2 separate regions of the Homo sapiens genome follow, and region 1 is linked to region 2. The links are contacts of gene promoters, found by promoter capture Hi-C in human tissues and cell types (Jung and others, 2019). All regions are on one chromosome and are shown on one strand. The core of a region is centred on a gene start or on the middle of the fragment in contact, and the rest is flanking DNA. Distances in the headings are between cores, read along the strand shown.

Evidence for each region. The method cuts DNA at HindIII sites, captures the fragments that hold promoters and counts their contacts. A contact is called where the count stands out against the background at its distance.
Region 1: a contact is called between a fragment that was not itself captured here and the fragment with the promoter of ABCC1 in region 2, in 1 of the 25 tissues and cell types used here (lymphoblastoid cells).

The regions. Positions count from the first base shown.
Region 1 is chr16:16,161,785-16,165,563 of GRCh38, forward strand. It overlaps ABCC6 (ATP binding cassette subfamily C member 6), which reads right to left. Exons shown (of 31, transcript NM_001171.6): 24 at 1,209-1,408. Among named protein-coding and RNA genes, the nearest start is that of ABCC6, 60 kb to the right of the region's middle. The HindIII fragment of the contact is 5,227 bases long and covers 1-3,779 here.
Region 2 is chr16:15,948,366-15,952,530 of GRCh38, forward strand. It overlaps ABCC1 (ATP binding cassette subfamily C member 1 (ABCC1 blood group)), which reads left to right and starts at 1,251. Exons shown (of 31, transcript NM_004996.4): 1 at 1,251-1,434. The coding sequence starts at 1,387. It overlaps LOC107984869 (a long non-coding RNA gene), which reads right to left and starts at 806. Exons shown (of 3, transcript XR_001752339.2): 1 at 426-806. The HindIII fragment of the contact is 39,892 bases long and covers 1-4,165 here.

The DNA of each region.
Region 1 (3,779 bases), core at 1,048-3,547, 210 kb after region 2:
ATCCCTGTGTGGCTGCTTTTCTGTCCCTGGAATTTGCCAAGCCATGTCCACCTGCCATTCCCCTGGCCTGAACCATGGCCTCCATGGTTTGGCTCTGTGTCCCCACCCAAATCTCATCTCAAATTGTAATCCCCACATGTGGAGGGAGGGATCTGGTGGGAGGTGACTGGATCATGGGGGCAGTTTTCCCCATATTGTTCTCGAGATAGTGAGTTCTCACAAGATCATATGGCGTAAAAGGATGCGGCAGTTCCCACCTCATGCTCTCCCTCTCCTGCTGCCATGTAAGACGTGCCTTGCTTCCCTTTCCACCATGATTGTAAGTTTCCTGAGGCCTCCCCAGCCACGTGGAACTGAGTCAATTAAACCTTCCTTTCTTTATAAATTACTCAGTCTCAGGTAGTTCTTTTTAGCAGTGTGAAGATGGACTAATACACAGCCCCAGCTGGCTGGGGACCTGAGATGAAAGGAAAAAGGACTTCACATGTATTGAGCACCTAGTGTGTACTTGACCCTCTCCACACTCTGGTACCAGACTGCTTGGATTCAAATCCTGGCTCTGCCAGTATTAGCTGTGAGACCCTGGACAAGTTTCCAAACCTCACTGTGCCTAGGATTTATCATCTATAGAACAGTTTCTTCCTGGTGAAGCTGTTAGCAGAATTAAATAAATTAATCTACATAGATTGCTCAGAACAGTGCCAGGCATGCAGTAAGCATGTTACAGGTCTTACCTATGAGTGTCTGTATTTAATCCTCATATCCACTCCATGAGCACGATCCCAGTTTGACAAATGAGGCTCAGAGAGGTTATGTAACTTGCCTGAAATCAACCAGCTGGTAAGTGGCAGAGCTGGGATTTGAACCTGTGTCTATTTGTGCTTAAAGCTTGTGTTCTTGTTCTTGCTTAGTACCTAAAGATGGCTGAGGATGCTTATATGGCTGCTTTATCACCAAGGCAAAAGAGGTTGATCCAGTTGCCTGGCAACAGAAGCTTCTTCCTGTACCCCCCGCCCACCTGCTGTTGAGAATCTCTCGGTCATGTTCCATCTGCCCACGGTGAGAACTGATAGACTGCCTGTGGGATCTAGCCTCAACTATGTCCCTGACTCTCTGGGTGACCTCTCTACCATACAATATGACCTCAGGTCTCACCCTCTAAGGATATGGATGAATTGCAAGGTCTTCTCTGCCCTGGCTCTTCCTACCTGTCAGCCACCAGTCGCGGGAAACTGATCCTCTGGCTTTCATCTACGCGAGCATTGTTCTGAGCCACAAAGGGGGCCTGGGTTCGGAATGCCCGGACCACTGTGCTGCCCTGGAACGTCTCAGCCATGTGGGAGCAGACAGACGAGTAGCTGGCTGACTCCAAGCGTCTCAGCTGGCATGAGCTAACCACATACAGGCTCTGAGAAGGATGGATGGGAGAGGGAAGAGGAGAAGCCACAGACATAGAGAGGTAGTTTCCAGAAGCACAGAGAGCCCCAAGTACAGGATTCCAGACCAGGATCTGTTAACAGCTTACTGTGTGACCTTGGGCTAGTTGCTTGCCCTCTCTGGGTTCTCATTTCCTTGCAGAATCAGAGTTCTATGGTTTTTTTGAAAATCACCTGGGGAGCTTCAAAAACCTCTAATGCCCCACCCCAGAATGACTGAATCGGAATCTCTGGAAATGTCACCTTGACTTTGGTGCTGTTTAAATAGCCTTCCAGATGATTCTAAGGGACAGCCAGGGTTGAGAAACCACCAATTTAGTTTAAGTGTCTCACTTCCCAGCACTGAGGCCGACTACTTCATTTACGGCTGGTCAGTGGGAGAACAAAACTGTAAGGGGCAATGAAGGCAGTTGGCCAAGTCAGTTTCACTCATGTAACCCAAGGGTTACATGCCAGGTGATGTGCAGAAAATATTCGTTATTTGGTTTGCAGCTGCAGGTTGGGTGCAGCTGGCAGACAGGCAGGCAGGGAGGAACTGAATTTGCTGAACACCCAACTGTATGTGCCAGGCTTTTCACACAGTGTCTCATTCATTGCAGAGTGAGCATTCGCGTCATTCATCAGTTAGTGGTGAGAACATCCAAGGCTCGGGGGATTCAGCAGCTGTCCTGAGTGCCACAGTAAGTGATAGAGCCTGGATTTAAACCCATCTTTGCTTGACTCTAAAGCTTGAGACAGAAACAGCCCATCCTCGGAGTCAAGTGAACTTAGAGAAGACCTAGGACAATTGTCGGGGACAGTGGTAGCCATGGGTTTTGTTGTTTGTTTTTTGAGATGGAGTCTCTCTCTGTCACCCAGGCTGGAGTGCAGTGGTGCAATCTCAGCTCGCTGCAACCTCTGCCTCCCGGGCTCAAGCAATCCTCCCGCCTCATCCTCCCAAGAAGCTGGGATTACAAGCATGCGCCACCACACTGGCTAAATTTTTGTATTTTTAGTAGACGGAGTTTCACCATGTTGACCAGGCTGGTCTCGAACTCCTGACCTCAAGTGATCTGCCCACCTCAGCCTCCCAAAGTGCTGTGATTAGATGTGTGAGCCACCATGCCTAGCCCTAGCCATGGTTTTTATCTGACTACCATGTTTTCTACTTCTGGTTTCCTGTGGGAAAGGGCTGGGTTGGGGTGCTGTCAATCATGGGACCTGATCAGAGAGGTGGTCACATGATGCAGCCTAGTGTATCAGAATCTACTATCCATTCAGTTACTGTGACGAGTTCAGAGATGGACACATGATCCACAAAGGGCCAATCAGAACCTTCCCTGGGATTAATATATGACTACTGAGCTGAAGAAACGTTTTTTGCATGTTGAGTTGCTAAGGTGAGATGATATGATAGCTAGTGGCCATAAGACCTGCCCTGGAAAGAGAGCGTGTACAAAATTAGACCAGAGGTAAGCCAGTGGTTCCTAAACATTTGTGTACATCAGAATTACTTGGAGGGTTAATTAAAACCTAGATTCATGGGCCGACCCACATAGTATCTGAGGCAGTAGTCCTGGGCTGGGGCCTAAGAATGTACTTTGCTAACTAGTCCCCAGGTGATACTACTGCTGGTCCTGGGGTCACACTTTGAGAAGCACTGAGTGAAGATATGGAGAGAGTCACTGTGTCCTGATGACAACTGGGCCCATGCCCCCAAGGAAATATAAGCCATTAAATTCTATTCTTTTGGTTAAGCTAATTTTAGTTGGTTGCTGGTCCCAGCAATTGAAAGAATCTAGCTTCATATAATAGCCTTTGAGACCTTGCAATGCCTTTTTGGCTTCCAGATAATTGGAGAGGAAGAAATTACGGCAGGATAAAAACATTACGCGTGAAAGGCTCTGGCCCTTAATATTTAACTGTGCCGTGGGGCACAGGGGCTCATGCCCTGTAATCCCAGAACTTTGGGAGGCCAAGGTGGGAGGATCACTTGGGGCCAGGAATTCGAGACCAGCCTGGGCAACACAGGAAGACACTTGTCCTACAAAAATAAATTTAAAAATTAGCCAGTCATGGTGGCACGTGCCTGTAGTCCCAGCTACTTGAGAGGCTGAGGTAGGAGGATCACCTGAACCCAGGAGTTCAAGGCTGCAGGGAGCTATGATCACCTATTGCACTTCAGCCTTGGCAGGAGAGCAAGATTCTGTCTCTCTAAAAAAAAGAACTTTGATGTGAACATTTAGAGACAGACACTAGTGGAGATACCAGAAAGACTGTAGTGTCCCTGTCCCTGGGAATTCTAGGAACAGCCCCTAGATGTCCAGCTGGGTGAAACCTCATATATGGAGTCTTCCCCAGAGA
Region 2 (4,165 bases), core at 1-2,500:
TGGGGTTGTGAGGATTGCACAAGTTAATTTGTGTAAATTGCTAAGAACACAGCCTTAGGAAGCCTTGTCACTGTGAATGCATATTAATTTTTTTTATTATTATTTTTTGAGACAGAGTCTTGCTCTGTTGCCCAGGCTGGAGTGCAGTGGTGTGATCTAAGCTCATTTCAACCTCCGCCTCCCAGGTTCAAGTGATTCTCCTGTTTCAGCTTCTCAAGTAGCTGGGACTACAGGTGCCCGCCACCATGCCCGGCTAATTTTTGTGTTTTTAGTAGAGACAGGGTTTTGCTATGTTGGCTAGGCTGGTCTTGAACTCCTGACCTTATGTGATCGGCCCGCCTCGGCTTCCCAAAGTGCTTGATTACAAGCACGAGCCACCATGCCTGGCCTACGATTATCATGTCTCCAGGCTTCAGTTTCCTTACCTCTGAGGTGAGGATCAATAACCTGGTTATTTCTAAGTGATGCTTAAAGAGGTTGAGAAGAAGCAAAGGCGCTCTGCACACAGGTGAGGTCAACAGCTGTTAGTGATGGAGACTGGCGCCGTCTGGGTCATCAGTGCTCCGGAATCAGGCTGCTCACGGGTTTGAATCTCACTTCCACTTTCACTCCTTATTAACTGTGTGACCTCGGGCAAGTCACTTCGCCTTTCTGAACCTCAGTTTCCCCATCTGTAAAAGGTAGGTGAATAACAGTATTCACCTCCTTCTGTGTGACTCAGCTTTGGAGTCAGCGGACCGGGTTCAAATCCCAGCCCTGCAAGTGATTAGCCAGGTGACCCTGGGCAGAGGGAATCACTCAACCTCTCTGCACCTGGGTTTCTTCCTTCATGAACGTGGAGACTTTACAGGATGAAATGAGGGCACAGTTAAGGCGCCCGGTACACTCCAGGCAGGTAGGGGGCTCCGTTCACGTTATTTTCCCCTGGTGACGGATACTGTCCTTAAACAGCATTTGAAAAGTGGTCGCAGGGTGTGTGGCCCCAAAGATCCCAGGCGCTTCCGGAAGGCGAGCCAACGCTCCCCAGGCCCGTCCGCGAGCGGGTGGGCCTAAGCCTTGGAGGATCTGGGGTGGGGGTGGCGCGGGGTCCAGGCCCGGGGCGCCGAGAGGTGGCTGGTCCGGCTGCCCACGCCGAGACGCGCGAGGTGAGCGGGCGCCGGGGCGGGGCGGGGTGGGGCGGGGCCGCCGCATCCCCGTGACGCGCGGGCCAACCAGGCGGCGTTGCGGCCCCGGCCCCGGCTCCCTGCGCCGCCGCCGCCGCCGCCGCCAGCGCTAGCGCCAGCAGCCGGGCCCGATCACCCGCCGCCCGGTGCCCGCCGCCGCCCGCGCCAGCAACCGGGCCCGATCACCCGCCGCCCGGTGCCCGCCGCCGCCCGCGCCACCGGCATGGCGCTCCGGGGCTTCTGCAGCGCCGATGGCTCCGACCCGCTCTGGGTACGTGCCGGGGGCCGCGTGAGGCCGGCGGGACGGAGGGAGGCCGGCGGGGAGGGAAAGCACCGGGCCCGCAGCCGCCCGGGGCACCCCGCTCCCCGCTCTGCTGCCGGCCTCGGGGGCCCGGGACCCTCACGTCGCCCGCGGCCCAGCCCCTTTCGGGGGTGCAAGGCATGGGGGAAACTTGGGTGACTCAGTTCCTGCGGAGCAGAGCGTGGGGGGCCGCGTGCCCAGCCCTGGGGTTTTGGAGGGTCGGGTCGGGTCAGAGCCGCCGTGAGGAGGCCTTCCTGTTTTGGGGTTCCCGTCTGTAAAAACAACCTTCCAGGGAAGGGGACGCTAGAGATGGGGGGCGGGAAGAGGGGTGTCTCTCTGCTTCTGTTTTCCCATCTTTTTTGTGGTTAGGGTCCCCCCTTTTCACGAAAAATACTCCGTGACCAACGGGGTGAGCTGGGGAGGGGCTTAGATTGTAGAAAGGGACTTTCATTGTCTCCCCAAAGTTGTCGTACAAGCCACATTACTCTTCTGTGGTTACCTAGCTTTGTTTTTTTTGTTCTTTCTACTTAGATACTGCGGGGGAAGTTTGGGGGAACCAGGGAAGAAGGGGGATGTCCACCCTTGATGTGCCCTACCTGACCCTCGGCTCGGGGCAGACTTGGGGTGCAGCTGAGGACGCCCAGGACCCTGGTAGCTGTGGTCCTGCCCTCCCTTCCCTGCAACACGTGGAGCTCCTCTCTGGGGATGCCCCTTAGATTTAACCCCGGCAAGTTTTCTTCTGTAACGTGGCCTGCGGAGCCTGACTGGGTGTCTGGAGTCCACTTGCTGTGGTTTAAGCCCCAGTCTTTTGGGCTTCAGCTTCTCCGTAATGCGATTTGCCTCTTTGTTCCAGGAAGGCAGGCACTTCTGTCTCGTGCTGTCTTGATTGTTGGTGAACGCAGTAGGCAAATCTGGACACGACTGTTTCTCTCTCCTCTTTTGTTTAGGAATCAGGAGAAACAGCCTTGGTTCTTAGGAGCTGGTGATCAGCTTCCAAAAATACTTTCTTGTCCTGTTTTGCCGGCCTTTCCTCGAGGGTTGCATTTGGAGTGTTGAAAAGTCATCCTCCAGGGCCCCATTGGAGGGTTTGGTTTTGTTTGTTTGTTTTTTTTAGTAGGGTATCATTGTGTTTAATAACCTACCACACTTTGATATATCTCCCATTTTAAGCCAGTGGGGTTGGAGAGTAACCCCAGGGGTGGAAATAGAACACAGACTTTGCCTTGAGGGTCTGGGGGTGATTGGAGCCTCTTTGCAGATGGACTTTCTTTAGCAGGGGAAAACCTGTGGCTTCCTTGTTGCCAGGTGTAGTAACAGCAAGATTATTTTTTGCAAAGATTCACATGGTGATCTGGGTTTGTGTTGCTGTGAATTCCAGAATATTCTCTTGTTTATTTTCTTCTGAATTGAGGAGGGGGCAAAACAGGGTGAACATCCATGAGGTTTTGTATCAGGACGTATTTTATTGATGGCAATTGGTAGTTGATGGCTAATGAGTATGTTTGGGGTGCGCTTTGTTTATCTTAAGAAACTCATTCACGAAGTCCAGTTGTAATATTTTTTAAAATTTTTATTTTCTTTTTTCTTTTTATTTTTTCCTTCGTTAAGGACTTTCTGCCACAGAAATTGCCAGGTGGTTGGGTTTTGCTTGGGGGTAATTGTAGCTGATCTCTGCCTCTGGTAGGTACCCCATCCCCGTGTTTGACCTTGCGTATTTCTGCTGTCTGGATTCCAAGACTTGTTGGAGGTGCCTTGGAACCAGAATTTGAGAGGAGGCAACTGGGGCCTGAGTGGGAAAATTGAAATATAATTAACTGAAAGCTAGAAAGTAGGTAGTTGTTGCTTTTTTCTTTTCTTTTTTTTTTCTTTTTCTTTTTTGAGACAGAGTCTTGCTCTGTCACCCAGGCTGGAGTGCAGTGGCACGATCTCAGCTTACTGCAATCTCTGCCTCCCCGGCTCAAGTGGTCCTCCTAACTCAGCCTCCCAAGTACCTGGGACTATAGGCGTGTGCCACCACGCCCAGCTAATTTTTGTATTTTTTATAGAGACAGATTCGCACTATATTGCCCAGGCTGGTCTCCTACTCCTGGGCTCAAGCGATCCTCCTGCCTTGGCCTCCAAAAGTGTTGAGATTACAGGCATGGGCCTCTGTGCCCGGCTGTTTTTGTGTTTTTCAAGGTAGCGTGTCCGAGGCCAGGAGCGACTGGCCTCCCAGGCAGTCAGATAACTGTGTGACCTTGAGCAAGCCACTTTCCCTCTGTGTGCCTCACTTTCCTCATCTCTAAAATTGGACAGGAGCCAAAAATGTGGCAGCCTTCTTGGGTTGTTGCGAAGGGTCAATGAGTTAATCTTGTAAGTGGCTCAGCTTGTGCCCTGCACGGAGATAAACAATGGTTAGTATTAAATATTATTTTTTCCAAAGATGAAGTTGTGTGTTTTAAGCTCCTTGTTCTTCCTTTGGATTCCCCTTTTCTTCAGCTGGTGGAGATGGGATTGGGCTGTGAAAAGGCAGTGAGGCACCCGTGCCTGGCTCCTGTTGTGACCAAGGTCATGTGCTTAGAAGTCAAGGTCAGTGGGCCTCGGGTGACTCTGTCAGAGCTTTGTTTCTGGGCTACTGTCTGCCTCTGAGCCGCAGGAAATGTCCAGAAAACCCAGAAGATGGAAATGGCCCATGATAAGTGTTCTGTTGACCTTTACTCAG